4 separate regions of the Homo sapiens genome follow, and all the other regions are linked to region 1. Evidence: promoter capture Hi-C in 16 types of primary human blood cells and fetal thymus (Javierre and others, 2016). All regions are on one chromosome and are shown on one strand. The core of a region is centred on a gene start or on the middle of the fragment in contact, and the rest is flanking DNA. Distances in the headings are between cores, read along the strand shown. Region 1 holds the start of DAPK2 (death associated protein kinase 2). Region 2 holds the start of HERC1 (HECT and RLD domain containing E3 ubiquitin protein ligase family member 1). Region 3 overlaps HERC1 (HECT and RLD domain containing E3 ubiquitin protein ligase family member 1). Region 4 holds the start of MIR422A (microRNA 422a).

Evidence for each region. Contacts are between HindIII fragments. The CHiCAGO score rates a contact against its expected background, and 5 or more counts as called.
Region 2: the fragment with the promoter of HERC1 here is called in contact with the fragment with the promoter of DAPK2 in region 1 in 11 of 17 cell types (megakaryocytes, M1 macrophages, M0 macrophages and 8 more); the score reaches 10.7 in megakaryocytes.
Region 3: a fragment that was not itself captured here is called in contact with the fragment with the promoter of DAPK2 in region 1 in 6 of 17 cell types (M1 macrophages, total CD8 T cells, M0 macrophages and 3 more); the score reaches 7.6 in M1 macrophages.
Region 4: a fragment that was not itself captured here is called in contact with the fragment with the promoter of DAPK2 in region 1 in 2 of 17 cell types (M1 macrophages and M2 macrophages); the score reaches 7.1 in M1 macrophages.

The regions. Positions count from the first base shown.
Region 1 is chr15:64,043,741-64,049,289 of GRCh38, forward strand. DAPK2 (death associated protein kinase 2) reads right to left here and starts at 2,745. Exons shown (of 12, transcript NM_014326.5): 1 at 2,558-2,745. RefSeq lists enhancers at 1,029-1,078, 1,129-1,178 and silencers at 2,379-2,598, 2,629-2,688, 2,709-2,918. The HindIII fragment of the contact is 10,777 bases long and covers 1-5,549 here.
Region 2 is chr15:63,830,227-63,835,911 of GRCh38, forward strand. It overlaps HERC1 (HECT and RLD domain containing E3 ubiquitin protein ligase family member 1), which reads right to left and starts at 3,722. Exons shown (of 78, transcript NM_003922.4): 1 at 3,601-3,722. RefSeq lists enhancers at 2,878-3,743, 3,744-4,607, 3,781-3,910 and a silencer at 3,111-3,540. The HindIII fragment of the contact is 17,710 bases long and covers 1-5,685 here.
Region 3 is chr15:63,800,271-63,805,724 of GRCh38, forward strand. All of the region lies in intron 1 of HERC1 (HECT and RLD domain containing E3 ubiquitin protein ligase family member 1), which reads right to left. Among named protein-coding and RNA genes, the nearest start is that of HERC1, 31 kb to the right of the region's middle. RefSeq lists a silencer at 1,739-1,928. The HindIII fragment of the contact is 1,763 bases long and covers 775-2,537 here.
Region 4 is chr15:63,866,606-63,872,279 of GRCh38, forward strand. It overlaps MIR422A (microRNA 422a), which reads right to left and starts at 4,414; the gene lies at 4,325-4,414. The HindIII fragment of the contact is 717 bases long and covers 1,648-2,364 here.

The DNA.
Region 1 (5,549 bases), core at 1,495-3,994:
AAATGAGATAACCCATGTGTAATGTTTTAAACGGTCCATGGATAACGTGAATTCCTTCCCTCCTCTTTGTGACTTGGAGCCCCATAAGGGCAAGAATTGTGACATTCCTACCTCTGTCCCCTTGTCGTAGGCTAGTACACAGTAGGCACTATATAAGTGTTGGCTGATTTTAACTTAGTTCCCCAGCCTCCTTTCTCAAGGCCGCTACTCAGATGCTCATCAGGTAAAACAACTGATAGCCACTTCAAGCACTTTCCTAACACCTCTCCTAAGGCGAATTTGCATTTTACCAGTTTAGAAACAAACTAAAGGGGTGAAACTGAAGTGGAATTATAGTCACCAGCTAGGACCCAGATAAGGAGCCAGAGGCACAAGGACCTTTCCAGCCTCGAAAAGCTGAAATCACATGGCAGAGGGAAGGGACACAGTTACAACTTTTGGCCAGAAGCACAGGCCATCAGCTCCAGATGCTCCCAGGATGATACCCACCTTAATGCCCATGTTTCTCCTGATGGAGTCCTTGGAATTCAAATTCCTGCCTACAACTCTAATACCAGGCAACACTTCAGGGGGCTACCACAGATTTCCTAGAACCCCATAGATCATCTATTTAGGGATTTTTAGAACTGCTTCAGGATCACCAGGGTGAGAAGGGGAAGCCAGAGCAGTTCCACGTTATCCATACTATATGTTGGCGTTCTGGGTAAGAATTCACTGTGAAACAGAAGTTTGAAAACCACTGCTGTCTGGTCTAACCCACTTGTTTTTACAAGAGGAAGCTGAGATCCAGAAAGGGGAAGGGACTCACTGAGCATCATACAGGTGACCCATCCCGCTCCTCTTCCCAGGGCTTCTTCTGTTGATAGCCACCCCAACTCCTCCAAGATGTCACCAGGGTTGGCAAAGTCAGTGGCCTCCTGAGGGACAAGCTAGGAGGAGGTGTCTAGGGCTGGAAGATCACCTCATAGGAAACTCTCAACACTCAAGAAGCCCTCTCCACCACTGGCCCAGCTCACTCTGCAAAGTGAACTCTCTCAGTTCCTCATCCCACCTCACCAAGTGCAAGTGAGTGAAACGGGACCACAGCAAGAGGGCAGGCAATGGTTGGGCAAAACACACACGACCGTCTCATTACACACACCCCCATTAGGAATCATCACACTCAGGCTCTGGAGAGGCTGCCAACAGAAGGGATGGGGCTCCGGCATTACAGAGCTCCTCTCTACATTCCAGGCTTTGACCCATCACAGTCTCCAATGAGGAAGCTGGGGCCCACAGAAGGTCAGCCACCTGCCTGAGTTGACACAAGAAAAACTTGGTCTCTCTGGCAAAGATCCAGCTCCCTTGGGAAGCCTGCTTGTTCACCCCACAGCTAACAAATCGGGAGGCCTCAAGGAGGTGGGCAGGGTCAGTGCGGGTCTCATTCCTGCCAGCCAGGAACTTACCCCAGAGGAGCAGACCTCCAGCCACATCCACACACCCCTGACCCCTCTGCCCAAGTCTCCTCTGAAGGTGCTGAATCATCAGTGGTGCCACTTGAGGGTGCTCAAAAAACATCTTGGGAGATGAGCGGTTTGGGGAAGGACAGGGCTGTGAAGTTAGCTGTGAAGAGGCCAAGGCACCACGGCCTCTTAGGTCAACAGGACTCTCCCAGGAATATCTTCCACAGAGGCAGTTGGGAGTCGCAGTGTCAGAAACCAGAGTGGCTGCCCTCCACAGGATTCCAGGATACAAGATGTCAGGCGCTGTCCCTGCACCTGCCCGCTTGCCCCCGAGGCAGCCAGCTATGGTGCCCTCTCCTCCAGTGTGCACCACTGCCTTACCATTACCTGCACGGCCTCAACGAGGCTCACCTCTCTGGACCTTGTTTTCTCTTTTGTAAAGTAAGAATACCAATTTCCACCGTGCAGAGTTACGGTGAGGGTTAGCCAGACCTATGCAAGCCTTGGGACCTCCAAAATGCCTAGCCCAGAGTCCTAGTCAACTGTTGGCAACGCCCTTCCAAGCCGTTCCACCCCAACCTGCAGCACACCTGCTGGCCGCCCCCACGCCCATCCTAGCTCTACCCCAGGCCGGGGCGCCTGACGGCGGGGACCCCAGCTTCATTCAGCCCCAGAGGAAGCTCAGACATCTGAGCACCCTCCTCGCATCACATCCTTGTGCCAGGCGGGAGCAAGAGGTGAGAGAGTCAGCCCAAGCTGAGAAGACTTGGCCGGGAGCCGGGCGTGCTCTGCCCGTTCCAGGGGGCCTAACTCGATGGACGTCTGTCTCCCATCTCCCTGCTGGGTGCTTGGCTCTGCCCGCCGCCTCTACCCTGTCTCCCAGGTCAAAGTGCCAGGCTCCGGAGGGCGCCCCAGGGCAGCGGCGGGCAGCTCCCGCGCTCGGGTGCCGGCCACAATGCCCCGGGCCACGGCGTCAGGCATTGGGGCGGCGGGCCCGGGATCTGCGAGCGAGTGCCCCGGATCTCTTCGCCCCGCCAGCCCCAGACCCGGGCGCTGCTGCCGTCAGGCCGCGCGCCCCGTCCCGCCCATCGAGCCCGCAGACGGGTGCTACTCACGGCGGGAGGCTGAGCTGCCGCGGTCGCGGCCGCGGCAGGCGCGGCGGGAGCGGCGGGCGCGGCGGGCGCGGCGGGCGCGGCGGGCGCGGCGGGAACGGGGGACGCGGCGGGGTGCGCTGGGCTCGGCCCTGCAGTCCTCTCCTCCCAGAGCGCCCGGCACCCGCCCGCCGAGCAGCCTAGGAGCCGAGGGGGCGGAGCGGCCAGCCCCGTCCCAGGCGCCGGCTGGAGGCGCGCCCGGCTGCCCGGGACGGGGCTCGGGGCGCCCCCTGCTGGAGCCCCCTCCGGACAGTCCCGGGGCGAGAGCCCAGCTTCCCGGCCGGGTAGGGGACACCTCAGGGCTCCCAGACTCCCGGGAGAGCGGGGAGAGTCGGTAGCAAGACCCTCTGCGCGTCCCTACCGGCTCTACCGCGCACATGCTGCGTGGCCTTGGGCAAGTCGGCTACCCTCCCCCGGCCTTATCTGGAAATCGATTTGAATGAGCTTATACGTATGACATGGTCTGGCACAATCCTCAGAAAATGGTACTTGTGTGCTCCTCTCCCCACCATACACACCGTGAGCGAGGAAGCCCCACTGAGGAATAGGCCGTCTCCTCCCTCCCAGCCAGAGCGCTCCCTACACCGCAGACTCTCCTGGAAACCTCAAGCCCACAGCGTACAGCAAGGTGGGGGCTGCGATGAGAAGGGCCGCTCTGCTCCTCACTGCCCCCGACCCAGCCTGAGAGCGGCCTGCCCTCGTTTGCCCTTTGTCCTGGCACGGTTGCTGAGTGAAGCCCCCCTCTCACCATCACGCCTTCTCTAATAGAGGACTTGGGAATGGGTTCCTCTCTCTGCCCTCTGCCAAAAAATCCCTGAGGAAAAAAGGAATGAGAGTGAGGGGGTGAAGGGAGGAAGGAAGGGAAAACAGAACTTAAGCCAAGTTCATTTGTCTTATTTCAAAACAAGAGGCTGTTTAGAGGAAGCAAATGAGGACCCCTCCAACCCCTGGAATTTCCATCCCTAAGTCACCCATGGGGCTCCTCAAAAGGGCCTTAGATTCAGAGTCCTACCACCAGGTTCAAAGCCCTGCCCTGCCACTCCGCATGTGTGTTCTTGGGCATGGCTCTTTCTTCATCAGTAAAGTGGGAGAAACGCACCTTCCGGTAGCTCCTAATGAAGCTATGGTGGGGCTGAGATGAGATGGAGTGTGTAAGATGCACCTAGAGGACCTCTACCAGTGTGAGCACACACACACCCTTCAGCCTTTTGGACATTGGGACAAATACAGATGGACCCCACCCCCCAGCTGAGCAGTGCCTCCGGGTCCAGGACATCCTCGGCAAAGAGTTCCTTGTTTATAAACTTCACAATAATTCAGAACAGTGCAGCCAGCGAGCCTCCTCTCCTAAGAGCAGCATGATATATAGAGTAATATCCAAGACTAGAGGTGGTTTCTGATGTCAACGGACCTAAGGGAATGACACCCACTGGTGAAGTTTCACCAACATGAGAAGTCCCCCACCAAACTATCCCTAAACACCTCTTCCTCCATTTCCATTTACCTATCACTGGTGACAAACCATTACCAGCCTTGGTGGCACAGGACAACAGTTTCACTATGTTCATGCATTCTGAGGGACAGAAGTTCAGACAGCACAGTGTGTATGGCTTATTTCTGCTCTGCAGTGTCTGGGATTTCAACTGGGAACACCTGAATAGCTGGGGGCTGAAATCATCTGGAGATTTCTCCATTCTCATACCCAGTACCTGGGCTGTGATGAATCCAAGGCTGGGCTCAGCTGACCCTGCTGATCACCTACATGTGGCCTCTCCATCTCTTTCCCTTGAGCCTCATGCTTAATACCTCATTGTCAGCAGCAGCAGCCCCTTACATGAGTCAAAAGAGACATTCTTGGGTTTAGCAATTGACAAGTTAGTCAGAGTCCATTGCAGCTGGAAGGGTCATTGTCAATTGACCCTGGCCACTTTTCAGATGAGGAAACTGAGGCTCGGAGAAGGGAGGTGACTTGCCCAACATCACATAGCTGGTGAGAGACAGAGCTAGGATTAGAACCAGGCCTCCTCCAGATTCAGTCTGGTGCCCCTTCCACTGTACCTGCCAGAATGCAACTATCTAGGAAGCTACCATCTGGAGATGCATCTTATGCTTAAGGTTGGGTGAGTTCATCAGACCCTCACCTGAGGGCAGCGACAGGGCACTGAACACAGGACCAAGGTGGCCATCAGCAGAAAAGGGGAGGCCCCGAGGACAGTGGCAATGAAGACACAAATTCCAGAATGAAGCCAGAGGCAGTCCAGGTATTAAGAGCTAAGAATTATCCAACTCAGTTCCAGTCCCTGCATGGTTCCCATGGCTGACCAAATCGAGTGTTAATGCCTCACCCTAGCATTTAAGGCCCCAACCCTTATTTTCCTGCTGTGTATGCACATTCCCTTCCCTCCTCTGCATGCACATCCAGCTCTTTTGCCAGGTTGGATTATTGGCTGTTCCTGCCTCCATGCTTTTGTTCGTTTCCACTACCCTTCATCCCATTCTACAAAATCTTATCTATCCTCTAAGAGCCTTCTAAAGTATCATGTCTTCCACAGAAACTTCCCTGGTCTGCCCTCTAAATACCTCTCTCCTTTGAACCTCACCACTCTTGGTTGGTACATCTCTTGTCATCTTCCTTCCTCTATTTTAATTAGTGTCTACTTCTCCTTTTCTCAAGGGCAAGTACAATTTCTTGTCCATCTTTGAACCCATACAGTGCTTGATATCCCAAACCCAGTAAAGGTTTCTTAAACTGAATTAAGGAAGGTAAATATCACAAGGGGCCATAGCTGTCTTGTTTTCTATTGTCCCCTAAGAGCACCCAAGCACCTGGCACTTAGTAGATGCTCAATAATCTTACTTCAAGTGCTTCACTTCTAGGGGGATGTCATTATCCTCTTTTACAGATGATGTAACTGAGGCTTGAGAAATTTGATTTGCTCAAACTCATCCAATTTGT
Region 2 (5,685 bases), core at 2,472-4,971, 210 kb before region 1:
AAAGTTAAAATACCACTAGCAAAAAGACATGTCAACACCATGTACCCCCAATATGATGCATTGAGAAGGACACAACATCGCTTCTGTAGTTTTCTTGCAAAACATGCTTAACCTCAATCAAATCATGAGAAAAAACATCAGACAAACCCAAAATGAAAGAAGTTCTAAAAAATAACAGTACTCATCAAAAATGTCAAGGTCGTGAAAAACAAAAACTGAGGAACTGTCAGAGATTGGAGGAAATGAAGAAGACACAACAACTAAATGCAACGTGGGAACCTAGATTAGACCCTAGAACAAAAAAAAAGGCATTAATGGGGAAAAACCAGTGAAATTAAGTAAAATCTATAGTCAATAGAGTTACACCAATGCTAACTTCTGGTTTTGATCACTGTATTATGGTTATGTAAGTTGTTAACATTAGGGGGAGCTTGGTGAAGAGTATGTAAGAACTCTGTACTCTCTCTGTAACTTTTCTGTAAGTCTAACATTATTTCTAAATAAATCATTAAAAATAAATAAAATCCATCAACCAATCATCTGATACAACTGTCATATCTTCTTGCTCAAGGATCTCATCTGAAATTTAACAGTCCCATTAATTTAGAGAGCCCGGTAGGCAACATCAGAACAAACTAAAATCATGAAAATCGGATCTGGCATCTAGTAAGTAAACAACTACTTTATGCTCTTTTTCACTTTTTGTAGTTAAAGAAAATGCTAGCAGATGTGACCTTCCTGGCTTTGCAAACTTCTCTGTAAATGATTTGACCAACTTTTTATGTTTTCAACATCATGATAATCTGCAATACATGCTCACAACAATGTATTTCATGTGTATGTTAAGCCAAAGTTGTGTAGACCTTTGTTGTTGTTTGTTTTGTTTTATTTTGCTTTTGAGATAGAGTCTCACTGTGTCTCCCAGGCTGGAGTAGAGTGGTGCAATCACAGCTCACTGCAGCCTCAATCTCCCAGGCTCAATTGATCCTCCCATCTCAGCCTCCCTAATAGCAGGAATTGCAGGTATGCACCACCACGTCCAGCAAATTTTTGTATTTACCATAGAGACAAGGTTTCACCATGTTGCCCAGACTGATCTTAAACTCCTGGGCTCAAGCCATCCTCCCACCTCGGCCTCCCCAAGGGCTGAGATTACAGGCGTGAGCTACTGTAATCTGGCCAAAAGTTCTATTTACAATTTTTAAAAATAGCTTCAACAGATTATAGTAAGTTTGTTACTTGCTATTATATAGTTATCCAACTATAACATTCAAGTTTTGTTTCACAAGTTTCTTTTTATCCTAACACAACCTTCTCACTCTCCAAGCCACGATGTCATCATTATCATCATTTTAAGATCTGAAAATCTGAATTTTAAAAATTTTAAAAGGTCAGCTCCTTCAATATACCCAGCCCCCTTTTTTTTCTATTTCAAATATTAGGGAGTATTCAGTATGACTTTTTTGGGGGAAAACATGCTTGGAACGTTGGAATTGTTATTACTATTTATTATTTGCACCCTCTACTAACCCAATCCAGTCCAATCACCAACACATTCTCCAAAATTTCTTTAAATTGAGATTTTCAAGAGATGTTTATATTAATAAGCAGATTAAGTGACGCATTTACATTTGCTTTCTCTTCCATGCAACATCAGGGTGCCTGCATTGGAAATGGAATACATGACCAGCAAATGAATGGATGTGTCACATGCAAACAGCATGACTGGAAATTTAAGAAGCAAAATGATAAGAACCTTAGGGAACGCAAAATTCATAAAAGTTTAGAATTACAAGAGGCCTTAATAGGCCATTTAATCCATTCCAATAACAACAACCCCAGATGACAATCTATCCTATTTTTAAAAGGCTCCAGATTTCCAACCTCCCTAGATATCTCATTCTGCCATACAACCTTGTCATGTGATTTGGGGGAAATATTATGACTGTTCTTTGCCCTTCCTAATGCTATCTTTTCTCAAATAATATAGCAATACATCTTAACTCACTTCCAAGATATATAAATGTGTATAGGTGCAGAATACGTGTGTGTGTGTGTGTGTCTCTATACATATATACGTACATTTATGCATAAGACAGGCACCTAGGACATTCAATTTTGCTTGTATAAACGCAGGCTATGGAAACACATATATCAAAGAGACATACTCATCCCACACTAATCACAACAGGCACTATGAAACAATGTCACAGAACAATTTTGGTCTAAAAATATCCAGTAGAAATCAATTTCATAAAACCTGAGGTAAATAGGTTTCTTCCCACTATGAATAATCATAGTTTCTTTCCCTTCTACAAATACTGCCCCATTTTGAGCAACCACCACTAACAGAATTGTAAAAATATAATATATACATAGGTACTAGACCCAAACAGACAATGTTTTAACGTTTGATTTTTCAAACCACTTAGCTAACAATCATTTTGGAAAAGGGCCCAGTGAAAAAGATAGTGATGGCAGAGTTCAGCCAGTGATAATGAACTAGCAGCCAGTTTTAATCAAGCAGGCCAGAGAACTGATTCAAATAAAATAAATCATTTTTGGAACAAATATAGAATGAGGAAGTCCCAAGCAAGGATAAAAAAAAATGTGTCTGTTAGGAAATACAATAAAATGTTAACCATGAAATGCCACCTCTGGAGATGGAATTACAAAGATGGGTTAGTTTGTTCAGATTTGTTATTCCCATCATTTAATTATCTCTATATTCTAAGTATTATAGACATTTCTTAAACTAAGACAAATCTGTCCCTGTGTTTCACAGCTCTCTAAGATAACATGTCTTTTACATAACCTCCTGGGAGAGGTGGTACAAGCTCCTGTCCTCCTCGTGTCTCCCAGTAACCTGCCACCCATCACAGAACAGATTTCACCATGTTCCCCGGGGTAGCTCCTGTCATCACCATCATCATCCTCATCTCACGCTTAAGACTAAACAATGCGCCCCGCCTCGCCTCCCGGTTGCAAAGGCTTTATAATTTGTTGTTTTATTGGGGCGGGAGATTTGGAGAAAGGTTTAGCAGATGATGAGCTGCCCTCACCCAAAGGCAGAGGAGAGGAGGAAGACACGTCGTCCCAGCCTCCACCCCGCTAAAGGCGGCCGGCGCCTGGGGACACCGGGGTCGCGGCACTCCCCGGACCCTGAGAGGGAGTCGGCCGCCGCCCGCGGACCGAGCCCCAGCCGGGGCAGAGGAGCTGGTCAGCAGATAAAGGAATGAAGCAGAAAGAGACGCGACCACAGCGGGGCCGGGGCACAGACGTTGTAAGCCGCTGGAGGGGCGGGTCTCTCGGCCCTCTCCGCGGGCGCCTCGGCTTCTACGCTGCTCCGAGGCGCCCGGGCGGCAGGAGGCCTCTAGAGCCGGGGACCCGGGGGATCCGCGGCGCGCCAGGAGGGCTCCCCCAGCTCGCCTGCCGCCCACCCGGGACCCCAGCAGCCCCGCTCGGCTGCAGTCCCGAAACGGCCCCGGCCGGCCCTGCGCGGCCGGCAAAGCACACACGCGCGCGCGCACACACACACACACACACACACACACACACACACACAGGACCAGGAGGACGGTAGATGATGCGTTACCGTACGTGGCTCTGGAGCTGGCGGGGTGGGGCGCGGCTCCGGCGACCCGAGCCCGGCTCCGCAGAGGCTGCGGCGGTCGCGTCCTTTATTTTTGCTGCAGCAGCAGCGACTTGTCAAAGGGAAAGACGTAAGAGGCGGCGGCAGCAGCGGCGGCGTCAGGCGAGTCTCACGAGATTTGGGCGGAACTCTCGCGCAGCCGGGAGCCCTCGCCCCGCCCAACAGGCCCAGCGCGGGAGGTGAAAGGGGAACCGAGAGGAAGGCGGCTGAGGTGGAGTTGGGGGTTGAGCGAAAAGGGGAAAGGGATTTGGGAGCGAGGGGAGCCAAGCTAGGTGCTGGGGACACTTTGCTACCGCGCGGCCCTCACCCTTCAGCCGTCGCGGAATCCGGGCAGCCCCGACCGCCTGCGGGGACCTGACTCCACAGATGAAGCACAATTGGGGGCGTTTCACAAAGGGTGGTGAGGAGTGGGGGGCCATGCAGTGCGCCCCCTTTTCCTCGTGGTGGGCAGGGAAGACCCCGCCGCCAGGCGAAGGGACACGTGTTACGGCCGGCGGCAGGGCCAGGGCCTCACCCCTTTATCTCCGCCTCGCACCCGGCGCCCCACGCTCTTTATCTCTCATCGCAGCGGCCCCGGCCCTCCGGCCGGCTAAGTTCAATCACATAAAAGCGTTTCACTTGACCTACTCTTCCACCTTGTTCATGTCTTTGCGCCTTATGGGACTGCCAGAACCCTGCAGATGCCAGGGCCTGGCTCCTCGGTTTTCTTTTCTGCTTGGGAACACAGTAGTGTCCTTTGGGTGACTTACATCCTTGATCATGACCTCGACCTCCACGTGAAACCCCATGAGGGGAAGGACACAGACTGGCTCAGTCCTCACCATATCTCCAGCGCCTAACATAGGTCCAAGTGGACATTAAATTGTTGAGTGAATACCCCATCTCCATCTTCCTCCTTCTGTACCTGGTTTTACTCCTTTCCAGCCACCTTCATGGTGTCTTTCCTTCCAGATATTCTAACGAGCATCAATTAAACTGACCGATGACTTGGGGACAAAAAATAGAGTTGGCCTCTGCGTTCCAGAAGTTTGCAATCCAATTGGAGGCGTAGGAGAAGCACACAAACATACAAGCCATGAATGTGTCACTAATGTAAGAAATTACGGTATAGACAGACGAGGGAGTGCTTTCCCATGGTTAAATTAGATACATGTTTGTGTGTCACATGAGGCAGTTTAGTCCAAGAGTTAGGAGCCATGTGCTTCACTGTCAGACACTGGTGGGAATTCTGGAATCCCACTTACCCCAGGTGTGTGACCTTGGGCAAGTTGCTTGACCTCTCTGAACCTCAGTTCCTTATGTGTCAATTTATAATGCCAGTTCTTGTTATCACAAGGTTCCTCTGAGGAGTAAAATATATGTAAAGCTCACATACGGCACATATTAAGTACTCATTAAATGATGGGTCTTAGGTGTGTAGCTTTTAAGTTTCTATGTATAAAATGTGTATTTCTGGTAAATGATGTAAGGGAGTAGCTACATGAGGAGTGATGTCATTGTTGCTAGTGCTTTATGATCTGGGTATTGTGTGTGAAGCATACTCAAAAACAACAAGCAAAAGCTCCTCCTTTTAACTTGTTGATGTCATCTACGTCACTCACAAATATGATATTCTGTCTTTCTTGAATTTGTAAAATTGTACTGGTTTTGCCCACTTTTTCTTTTTCTTTTTTTTGAGATGGAGTTTTGCTCTTGTTGCCCAGGCTAGAGTGCAATGGCACCATCTTGGCTCACTGCAACCTCCGCCTCCCAGGTTTAAGCGATTCTCCTGCCTCAGCCTCCCAAGTAGGTGGGATTACAGGTGTGTGCCACCATGCCTGGCTAATTTTTGTATTTTTAGTAGAGATGGGGTTCCACCATATTGGCCAGGCTGGTCTCGAACTCCTGACCTTGTGATCCGACCGCCTTGGCCTCCCAAAGTGCTGGGATTACAGGGGTGAGCCACCGTGCCCAGCCTGGTTTTGCCCATTCTATTTCAAGAAAAGGACTGCTTACTTTAAAGACCAATCAAGAGACTCCCTCTTTTACCATCT
Region 3 (5,454 bases), core at 406-2,905, 240 kb before region 1:
TAGGTTTACTCTAAAGAACAAAATCTCTCCTCTGACAAGAAGGCCAAGAACTGACCTCTCCCCTTGCTCTCTCTTCTATAGACGCCTGAGATCCTTAACTCCTGGAAGGCACTATGCTCCTTTGTATTTCAGGAACTTTGCACAGGCAGTTCTCTTTATTTAGAGCCTGCCTTCTCCATTCCATCCTCTTTCACCCAGTTAATGTTTAGTCACAAGATATCAGTTTAAACAGTACAGTACCAGAGATATTAATTAGGTACTCAGTAACAGTATCACTAGCTGAATTAAATGTCACTTCCTCTGGGAAGGTATCCCTGACTATACCCATGTGAGATTAGGTCTCTCCCAAAATGTTCACACAGCATCCAGTACTTTACCTTCATAGCACCTTGCATGGTTTGCAATTATATATAATTTGTGCGATTTGTTTAATGTCCATTTGTGGCATAAGAAATACATACTTGGTGTTCGTAATTTCCTTTGTGATAGGGGAATAGGAGCATCTTTTGTTATTCGTAACAAGCCCCTTTCAACCATACCTGAGTTTATGCTAATGAGGTGACTCTTAGTGGGCCCTTAGATAGCTTCAGGATGAAGGCTGGTTGCCAGAGAAACCAACCAAGTGATAAAAGTGTTGGAACTTTCAGTTCCACCACCAGACCTCAAGGGAGAGGAAAAGGGGTGGAGATAGAGTTAATCACCAATGGTCAACGATTTAATCAACCAAGCCTACGTAATGCAGCTTCCATAAAAACCCCTAGACAGGGTTCAGAAAGCTTTCAGGTTGGTGAACACATCAAGATGCTGGGAGGGTGGCATGTCAGGAAAAGGCATAGAAACTCCATGCCCCTACCCCCTGTATCTTGCCCTATGCATCTCTCCCATTTGGTTATTCCTGAGTTGTATCATTTATAATAAACCAGTCATTGTAAATAGGATATTTCCCGTGTTCTGTGAGCCATTCTAGCAAATTACTCAAAGGTGAGGGGGTAGTTGTAGGAACTCCCCCGTTTGTAGGCAATTCAGAAGTGTGGGACTCAATACATGCAACTGGCATCTGAAGTATGAGTAGTCTTGTGGGACTGAGCCCTTAAACCTGTGTAGTCTGATGCTAACTCTGGATAGTGTCAGAATGGAAATGAACTGCAGGGACAGCCCGTTGGTATCTGGAAAGTTGAAGAACTGATTGGTGTACGCAAAAAACTCACACACTTGTTGTCAGAAGTGCTGTGAGTAAAAACAGCAAAGACAATCTTTCACATTAGTCTATAAAGACTATCAGAGCAGAGGCAGTATCGATTTTGCTTATATCCCTAGTGTTTATTAGCATAGGTAAAGCACATAGAGGGAGCTCAATAAATATTTCCTGAATTAAGCTAAGCAATCTGAATCCAGGTAGTCCATTATGCATATTGAATATAATTTAATCTCACATATTATCTTACTCTGAACTGACCTAATGTGAGCAAGTGCAAGTGTGGTGGTACCACAGTGGATATATCCTAGGGATTCTATCTGCAGTCCACTTCAGTCTCCTCCTCTTCATGTACATACATTTTTGGATCCCAGCAACTCCCAAGGCTTTTACCTATCTCATATGCTAATGAATCCAGTCAAAACTTCTCCTGAGCTCCAGACCTGGACATCCACTGCCAGCATGATATACCCACTCAGATGTACCAAAGGAATCTCTAACACATCATGTTTAAAACTGAACTCTCGACGTCTACCAACCCATGTCTCCCCCAATACACAGTACTTAGAGAATCATAAGAGAAAGTGTCAATAAAGACTTCTCAAGGGCATTTCTGAAAGTGCAGGAGGAAGAGCCCATTTGCAAAGTTCTATAACTGAAACTTAAATGTACACTGTGGTCCAGGTCTCCCCACTCCTGCCACATGTACTTCTAGAAGGCTTCATTCAGCTGAATGATTGATGTTGGTACTCTTATTCATTAAACCACACAAATTATCAATGGTTAGCTGTGCAAAATTGAACTCCTGCTAAAAAAGAAAAAACTTTTTCGTTGTTATTATTGCTATTTAAGAAAGTACACTTAGAAAAGGAAAAGATTTGCTGAGTTTGCTGGCAAATTGTTTTTGCTACATCAATAATGAGAACTAGTCAAATAAACCTGGAAACAGACGTGCCTATTCGGTGAGTAAAGAACTACAGACAAAATCAAATCAAACTAATGGGTTTTCACTTGCATTCTAGAACCACCAGTTCACAATCCTGATCAACCAGCTAAATATTGGCAAAGGAAAAACTGCAGTTTTGTTTTGTTTATTAATTTAAGGTAAAAATTTATAACACTAAAAGCCAATTGTTTTTTTTCCACTCCTGGTACAATGCACAAATCCAAACTGACATACATACATAAATTACCAAAGATTCACCAATGAAAAGAAAGGTTAGAAAACTACCAAGGAACTGGAAAAAAACCAATCAGCACTACAACTATCTTTCTAAAACTGAAATAAACGAGTTACTGCAAGTAAGTTTAAGTTCCTATAAGTGAGTTTATCAAATTCTGAAGCTTTTAGCATTCTCTAGGTGAACAAAGCAATAATAGCAGTTACAATTCACTGAAGCACTTTCTATGTGGCAGAAAATACATGTATTATTTACTCTTCAGAGCAACTCTATAAAATAGGGGCTGCGTGTGGTGGCTCATGCCTATAATCCCAACACTTCGGGAGGCCAAGGTGGGAGGCTCACTTGAGCCCAGGAGTTTGAGACTAGCCTGGGTGACATAATGAGACCCCATCTCTACAAAAAATAATTTGGCAGGCATAGTGGTGCACCCCTATAGTCTCAGCAACTTGGGAGGCTGAGATGGGAGGATCGCTTAAGCCTACGAGGCTGCAGTGAGCCATAATTGTGCCCCTGGGCAACAAAGTGAGCAACCCTGTCTCAAAAAATAAAATAAAATTTAAATTTAAAAAACTAATAAAAAGAAAAAAGTACTTGTATTATCCCCATTTTCCAGGAAGGGAAGTGGAGGTACAGAGAGGCTAAATAGCCCAAGGTCACAACTGCCAGTAATTGATAGAGTAAGGATTCAAACCAGACTAGTCTGCCAGGTGACCCCTTAACCACTAAATCATGCTGCTTCTTATCAACATCGTGGTGTATATCATGCTCTTTTTTTCTCTCTTTTTTTTTTGACACAGGGTCTGGTTCTGATGCCCAGGCTGGAGTGGCAGCGACACAATCATAATTCACTGAAGCCTTGAACTGCTGGGCTCAAGCTATCCTCCCACCTCTGCCTCCTAAAGTGCTAGGATTATAGGCGTGAGCCAACACGCCCAGCCCCATACTAACTTTTTAGAAATTAAAACCTCAGAAGGTTTTAATGAACCAATTGCCAATTCAGTTCCTTCTTAAAAGTCTTGTTGCTATGATAAAATACATTCCTCCTAACCACTCTTTCAAGATTATTAAATGATCTCAATTGGGTAACAAAAGAAGCAAAACACTTTTCACAGTCTCAGAAACTTGCAAGGCAGGAAGGCAATGGACTGAGAATAGCAAAACAATTCTAACTGATAGAGAAAACATTAAAGATGTACATTATCTGACTTTTAAGCTTATTATTAATATAAAACTAGTAACTAGTAATCAAGACGTGGTAGTGGCAACAAGATAGTGGTACTTTCATCAAGATAGATCAACAGAACAGAACTGAGGGTACAGAAATAGACCCACATATATATGGCCAACTGATGCTTATCTAAAGTGTCAAGGCAGTTTAATAGGAAAAGGATAATCTTTTCAACAAAAGGTGCTGGACCAACTGAATATGCAAACAGGAAAAATAAACCTTGACCCTAATTTCATACCATATACAAAAATCAACTCAAAATGATTCACAGACCGAAACGTAAGAGCTAAAACTAAAAAGTCTCTAGAAGAAAACATAGGAGAAAATCTTAGCAATCCTGGGTAAGATTTCTTAAATAGCACACAATAAATTGATAAGCTAGACCTGATCTAAATTAAAAACTTTTGTCCTTCAAAAAGTATTGCTAGCCGGGCACAGTGGCTCACGCCTGTAATCCCAGCACTTTGGGAGGCTGAGGCTGGTGGATCACCTGAGGTCAGGAGTTCAAAACCAGCCTGGCCAACATGGTGAAACCCGTCTCTACTAAAAATACAAAAAATTAGCCGGGCATGGTGGCGGGCGCCTGTCATTCCAGCTACTTGGGAGGCTGAGGCAGGAGAATCACTTGAACCCAGGAGGTGGAAGTTGCAGTGAGCCGAGATCGTACCATTGCACTCCAGCCTGGGCAACAAGAGCAAAACTGTCTCAAAAAAAAAAACAACACTGTTAAGAAAATGAAAAGACTTAGATATGATGAACACATACATAAATAAGAAAATGAAAAGGCAAGCCCCAAGATGAAAGAAACTATTTTGTAAAACATATCCAATGAGACGTGTATCAAGAATATATAAAAAGAACCCTTACAACTCAATAAGAAAACTCAATTTTTAAAATGAGCAAAATATCTGGACACTTCACCAAAGATACATAAACAGCCAAAAAAGCGCATGAAAGGATGTTCAACACCATTAGTCAGTAGGGAAATGGAAATTGAAACCACAACAAGATACTATTACAAATTCAATAAATGGCTCAATTTAAAGACACAGATAATACTAGGTATTGGTGAGGATGTCACCACCAGTGTGTAGAACTCTCATACACTGCTGGTAGAAATGTGACATGGGAAACTGCTTGGCAGTTTATCATAAACACACGCTGTACTTAGCACATATGCAACAATTCTACTCCTTAGGTATTTGCCCAGAAAAATGAGAATACATGATTACATAAAGACCTGGTCATCAGTATTTATAGCGTCTTTATTCATAATAGCCAAAAACTGGAAACTCGACTGTCCATCATCTGATGAATGAATAGGTACATCATAATATATGCATACAATGGCATACTACTCAGTAATAAAAAGGAATGAACGACTGATTCAAACAACACAATGGTTATTCATTACAAGCAAAATGAATAATAAGCATTATTATTCATTATTTGGAGATTCAACATGGATGAATCTCAAAAGCATTATGCTAAGCGAAATAAGCCAGACACAAAGACTACATAACTATGGTTCTAGCTGCATGAAATTCTAGAGTAAAAACCACGGTGATAAAAAGCACATCAGTTGTTGCTAATGGCTAAGGAACAGGTGGAGAAGATTACAGCCAAGACATAAAAGGGAACTTTCTGGGTATGATGAAAAGAGACTATATGATGATTGTGGTGGTAGTTACATAACTGTATTAACATTTATCAAACTGTTGTCTTAAAATGGTGAATTTATGGTATGTTAATTATACCTCATCAAAGCTGACCAAAAACAAACAAAAGGTCAGACACTATGGCTGAGGCCTACAATCCCAGCACTTTTGGAGGCTGAGGCAGGAGGA
Region 4 (5,674 bases), core at 756-3,255, 180 kb before region 1:
AAGCAATATGAAATCTTGTAGAGCAATAGTAATTAGCTGTGGTAGAGGGTAGTTATAATAATGTAACTATTGCATCCTAACCCCTCTACCACAGCTAATTATTTCATGTTGCTGTACAGATTGCAAATGACTCTCCTCTACAGTATATCTTTTTTTTTTTTTTTTTTTTTTTTTGGTTTTGTTTTTGTTTGAGATGGAGTCTCGCTCTGTCTCCCATGCTGGAATGCAGTGGCGCGATCTCAGCTCACTGCAACCTCCGCCTCACGGGTTCACGCCATTCTCCCGCCTCAGCCTCCTGAGTACAGGCACCCGCCACCATGCCGGGCTAATTTTTTTTTCCTTTTTTTTTTTTTTTGTATTTTTAGTAGAGACGGGGTTTCACCGTGTTAGCCAGGATTGTCTCAATCTCCTGACCTCGTGATCTGCCCGCCTCAGCTTCCCACAGTGTTGGGATTACAGGCGTGAGCCACCGCGCCTGGCCTATATCTTTCTTTTTTTAAAAAAGGTAATTTTTATTGTGTTAAAATATACATAATATAAAATTTATCTTTTTTACTTTTTATTTTTTCTTTGAAACAGGGTCTCACTCTGTCACCCAGGCTGGAGTGCAGTGGCACAATCATAGCTCACTTCAGCCTTGAACTCCTGGATTCAAGCGGTCTTCCTGCCTTAGCCTCCAGAGTAGTTGGGCATTTTAACAATTTTTGACTGTACAATTCTTTGGCATTAAGTATATTCATGTTGTGTAGGCATCACCACCATCCATCTTAAAACTTTTTCACCACCTTAAACTGAAACTCTGTACCCATTAAACAATAACTCCCCATTGCTTCCTCCTCCAGCTCCTGATAATGACTACTCTACTTTCTTTCTCTATGAGTTTGACTCCTCTACGAACCTCATCTACCTGGAATCATACATTTGTCCTCCTTTTGTGTCTGGCTTCTTTCACTTAACATAGTGTTTTCAAGGATCATCATGTTGAAGCATGTATCAGAATTACATTCCTTCTTCAGGCTAAATGGTATTCCGTTGTGTATGTATCATACTTTGCTTATCCATTCATCCATTAATGGATGCTTGGGTTGTTTCCACTGTTTGGCTCTTGTGAATAACGCTGCTATGAACATGAGGGTAAAAATATCTGTTGAAGTCCCTGCTTTCAATTCATTCATTCATTCATTGAGACAGGATCTTACTTTATCAGTCAGGCTGGAGTGCGTGGTGTGATCACAGCTCACTGCAGCCTCAACCTTCCAGGCTCAAGCCATCCTCCCACGTCAGCCCCCTTAGTAGCCAGGACCACAGGTGCATGCCACCATGCCCAGCTAATTTAATTTTTTTTTTGTAGAGAAGGGGGGGTCTCACTATGTTGCCCAGGCTGGTCTTGAACTCCTGCCTCAAGCAGTCCTCCCTCTTTAGCCTCCCAAAGTTCTAGGATTGCAAGTGTGAGCCACTGAGCCCAGCCTCAATTTTTTGTATACCTAGAAGTGGAATTGCTGGATCTTCTAGTAATTTTATGTTTAATTTTTTGAGGGACCTACTTTGTCTTTCTGACAACAGTTTTATGACCAAGGTGAGGCAGATACTAAGACAACTGTTCTCATAAACCAGACAGGACACTTGGTGGCTGGCCCAGGGTCTCAAAGCTTGTTGGAAAGTAGAGCTGGGACTTGAGCCTGGCTCTTCTGGCTTTAAGTCCACCTTCTTTCTCGCTACCATGCTGTCCTCCCTATTATATTGGCCTTCTTAAGCCTATAGTCCCCAACCAGAGGTCTCAGATAGATGTTCCCATTCCTCCAGAGCATGTAGAGGAAGCTACATTTATGCAGCCACCCCCCTTTGTTTGCAATCATCATTAGCATCTATCAATGGCACATGCCTGGTCTATTATAGGTCTTGAATTAGAGCCCACCTCACCTCCGGTTAGACTAACTCATTGGATGAAGAAGTCTCATTGACACATTGGGAAAAAGGGTGTGCCTTTGCAATGATTCATGTCTATCTTATATGAATGCTTAATCCCTCAGGGGCTGTTCTTTGATCCAAATTTTGTTCCCCCTCTATTCTGGACCAACTGCTCCACACATAACTCATGGCATTGAAATAACAATTTTAAAGTAGCTGCCACATTTCAGGAATGGAGGGCTTTGCACATGTTAGCTCATTTACTCCCCTCACCCTGAGAAACAGAAAGCATCTTTCTGTTTTGCAGATAAAGAAACATAGGCCAGAGAGATCAAGCCACTTGCCTGAGAGATGGCCCAAGATTTTCTGGGTGCCAACATCAGTGCCTCTATTTCTCCACCTCACAACACCTCCTTCCCAAGGATATCTCCCACTATGTAAGACTTTGTAATCTAAAGCTTATGCTCTTAACGGGAACAGAGGGTTTTTTGAGTTGATGGGTTTTTTTTCTTTTTTCCTGTCTGGAGTTCAGACTTGACTTCTAATTGGTAGGGTTTTGTCCTCACTTCTTTGGACCCTCTCCTACAAGACCCTCTCCTACAAGACCACCCACCAGTCTGGGTCCTAATTGTTTGTGACTCTTTTTCAGGGTGGGAGCAGGGTGGTTATGGAATGACCATGGGTCCCGGCATGTAATAAGTGGCCATGACCTCTAGGTCTCTGGGCTAACACCAAGTGTCCCTGTTTAGCCAGTTCTCATTGAGATGTATTGAATGAATAAATAAGCTCATGAAAAAAAAATCAACCTAGACGATATTCTTCTCATCAAGAATAATAATACAAAATCAACCTAGACAATATTCTTCTCATCAAGAATAAAAATAAAATAAACCTAGACAATATTCTTCTCATCAAACAAAAACAAACAAACAAACAAAAAACTCATAATTATCCCCAGTGTTCTCTGCTTCAAAATAATGTGGAGGTACTCAGGAGGCTGAGGTGGGAGGATTCCCTCAGGCCAGGAGTTTGAGACCAGCCTGGGCAACACAGCAAGACCCCATCTTTAAAAAATTTTTTTTTAATTATCCAGGTGTGGTGGTATGTGCCTATAGTCCCAGCTACTTGAGAGGCTGGTGTGGGAGGGTGATTTGAACCCAGGAGTTTGAGGCTGCAGTGAGGTATAATCTCACCACTGCACTCCAGCCTGGATGACAGAGCAAGACCTTGTCTCTAAAACACACACACACACACACACACAAACACACATAATAGTGAGGAGGACTTGAATGCTATGAGAAGTGGGGAGCTTAGGAGGAGAGAGGAGGCCAATTTGCTATGATGAAAAGTTCAGTGCCCTAAGTTGAAATCCTAATTCCAGTCGCTTACTGTGTGGCCCTGGGCACATCACTTAACCTCTCTGAGTCATATTTTTCTCATTTTTGAAAAGGGGATAATAATTCTTGCCTCGCTGAGATGGTTGTGAGGATTAAATAAAATGAGGGGTGTGAAGGTGAGAGCACAGTCTCCAGCACACAGGAGAAATGAGGAAGCAGAGAGAATACTGGATGGATGAATGACCTAGCAAACAGTACAATATAGAATCTGTTTAAAGAAGTGAGCTTAAAAAATCCTCATGTGATGTATGTTATCTTTTGGGGCTATAAATGGCATTAGGCAATGAGGTATGTCAACGAACAATTATGACTCACCGTGGAAATACCAAGTCTTTAAAACCCAAGAACCAATTACCAAATCCAGCATCAAAGACACACTGAAGCACTTAAAAAAAAAAAAAAGTCCCATAGTCTAGGATGTGACAAAATTGCTATGTGTGGGATAGAGCCCTTGATTGCTAAGAAGATTCTGAACATTCACAGTGGAAAATTTTTCTCTTCCATAGGATCAAGTGAGAATCCTATATTCTATATGTGGATTAGGACCAATTAGGATGTCAGGGTCTAAATGATTTTGGTGATCTTGGCCCTAAGGATTGCAGGCAAAACCCAAAAGCCACAGTCTCTGAGCTCCTCCACTAAGGGTGTGCCCAACCCCCTCCTGCTCCCCCTCCGAAGCACTGGAGCTCCTCGCTGCCGGTGCCAACCTCCTCTTCCAGGAAGGAGCTCCCCACTCTCCCATGCCCTACTCTGGAGCTCTGGGTCTGATGTGTGCCTGGGCCTCCATGCTCCTGGCCTGAGGTGCTGTCCAGATGCTGAGAGTTGGGAGACTTTGCTGTCTCCAGGAATATTAATAGCATGGGAGCTGTCCAGCCTAGGGAGCCAGCACTGAGAACAGGAGCTGGGCAGGGAGGGCCTCGGAGCTCAGAGCCCAGGACCCAGAGCTTCTGAGCCAAGCTAGGATAGCCAGGAGGGGCCCTGGAGGCCATGCCTAAATGAACAAAGGAGGAAACTGAGGCCCAGGGAGGACAAAGCTTGGCTCAGGGACAGAGAGCCCATCTGCAGCAGAGAGACTCAGGCCTTCTGACCCTAAGTCCAGTGCTTCTCTCGTGTCCTCACATTGTGGGCTTCCCCCAGCAACATACAGTATTATATGCTCACCAATGAGGTATGCATCTGCTGACACATACCTACCACTGACCATGACACTCACTGATACAGCCCCCTCACAAGGTGCTTTTATCATCTCATTTAATTCTTACCACTACCCTGTGATTAGCTATGGTAGTACCGTCATCATCATCGTATTTTCCAGCTACAGAAACTGAGGCACAGAGAGGTGGGGTGCCAGACCTGGGGACTGGAGTCAGTTGTGAGAGCAGTGCGCCAGGGAAGGTTGCCTAGAAGAGGGGACATCTGAGCTGGATAGAGAAGCAGGTGTTCACTAGGAGGGTAAAGGAAGGGAAAGACATTGTAGGGAGAGGGACCAGCAGGAACAAAGCCTAGATTTATGAGGTTGGGGAGAGAGAGACAGAGGCAGAGAGAGAAGAGCACTGCAGGAGCATGAGGCATGCAGAGGATGATAGAGGGTACGGTGGAGACAGTGGGCAGGGTGGGGCTGGGGACTGTCTTACACAGCCATCCCTAAAGGCTCTCTCTGAGGGAACATGTGCATTAGTCCCGGGGCAGCAGACCCTCTGGACCCCAGCCTGAAAAATTTTGGAGCAGAGCTTCCCTAAGTGTTTTCCCTGACGGTGTTCCCAAGGGGTGTGGCTTAACCTTCCAACTACGCAGTAACCTCTCCTAAGTAAGAATAGTATCTGGCCAGACGCAGTGACTCATGTCTGTAATCCCAGCACTTTGGGAGGCTGAGGCAGGCAGATCACTTGAGACCAGGAGTTCAAGACCAGCCTGGCCAACATGGCGAAACCCCCTCTCTACTAAAAATACAAAAATTAGCTGGGTGTGGTGGTGCACTTCTGTAAGCCCAGCTACTCGGGAGGCCGAGGCATGAGAATTGCTTGAACCCAGGAGGTGGAAGTTGCAGTGAGCTGATATCACGCCACTGTACTCCAGCATGGGTGACAGAAAGAGACTATCTCTCAAAAAAAAAAAAAAAAAGTGATATCTCTCCTTCTGGGGTCTCCCTCCTCCATCCCAGCCTAGCTGTGGGCTGAAGCCCCATGTCATCAGGATAAAGGCTCAAGGCCTGGCTACCAAAACACAAAAACACAAGCACTCAGGCCCTGGCCTTTAGGGCCACTTACTTGCCTCCTATGTGTCTGGCTGGGGAGAGGGAAGAAGGATGACTGAAGGACAGGCTGGGGAGAGGAGTCATATCGCTGTGCCAAACTTGCCTCAAGATGGGG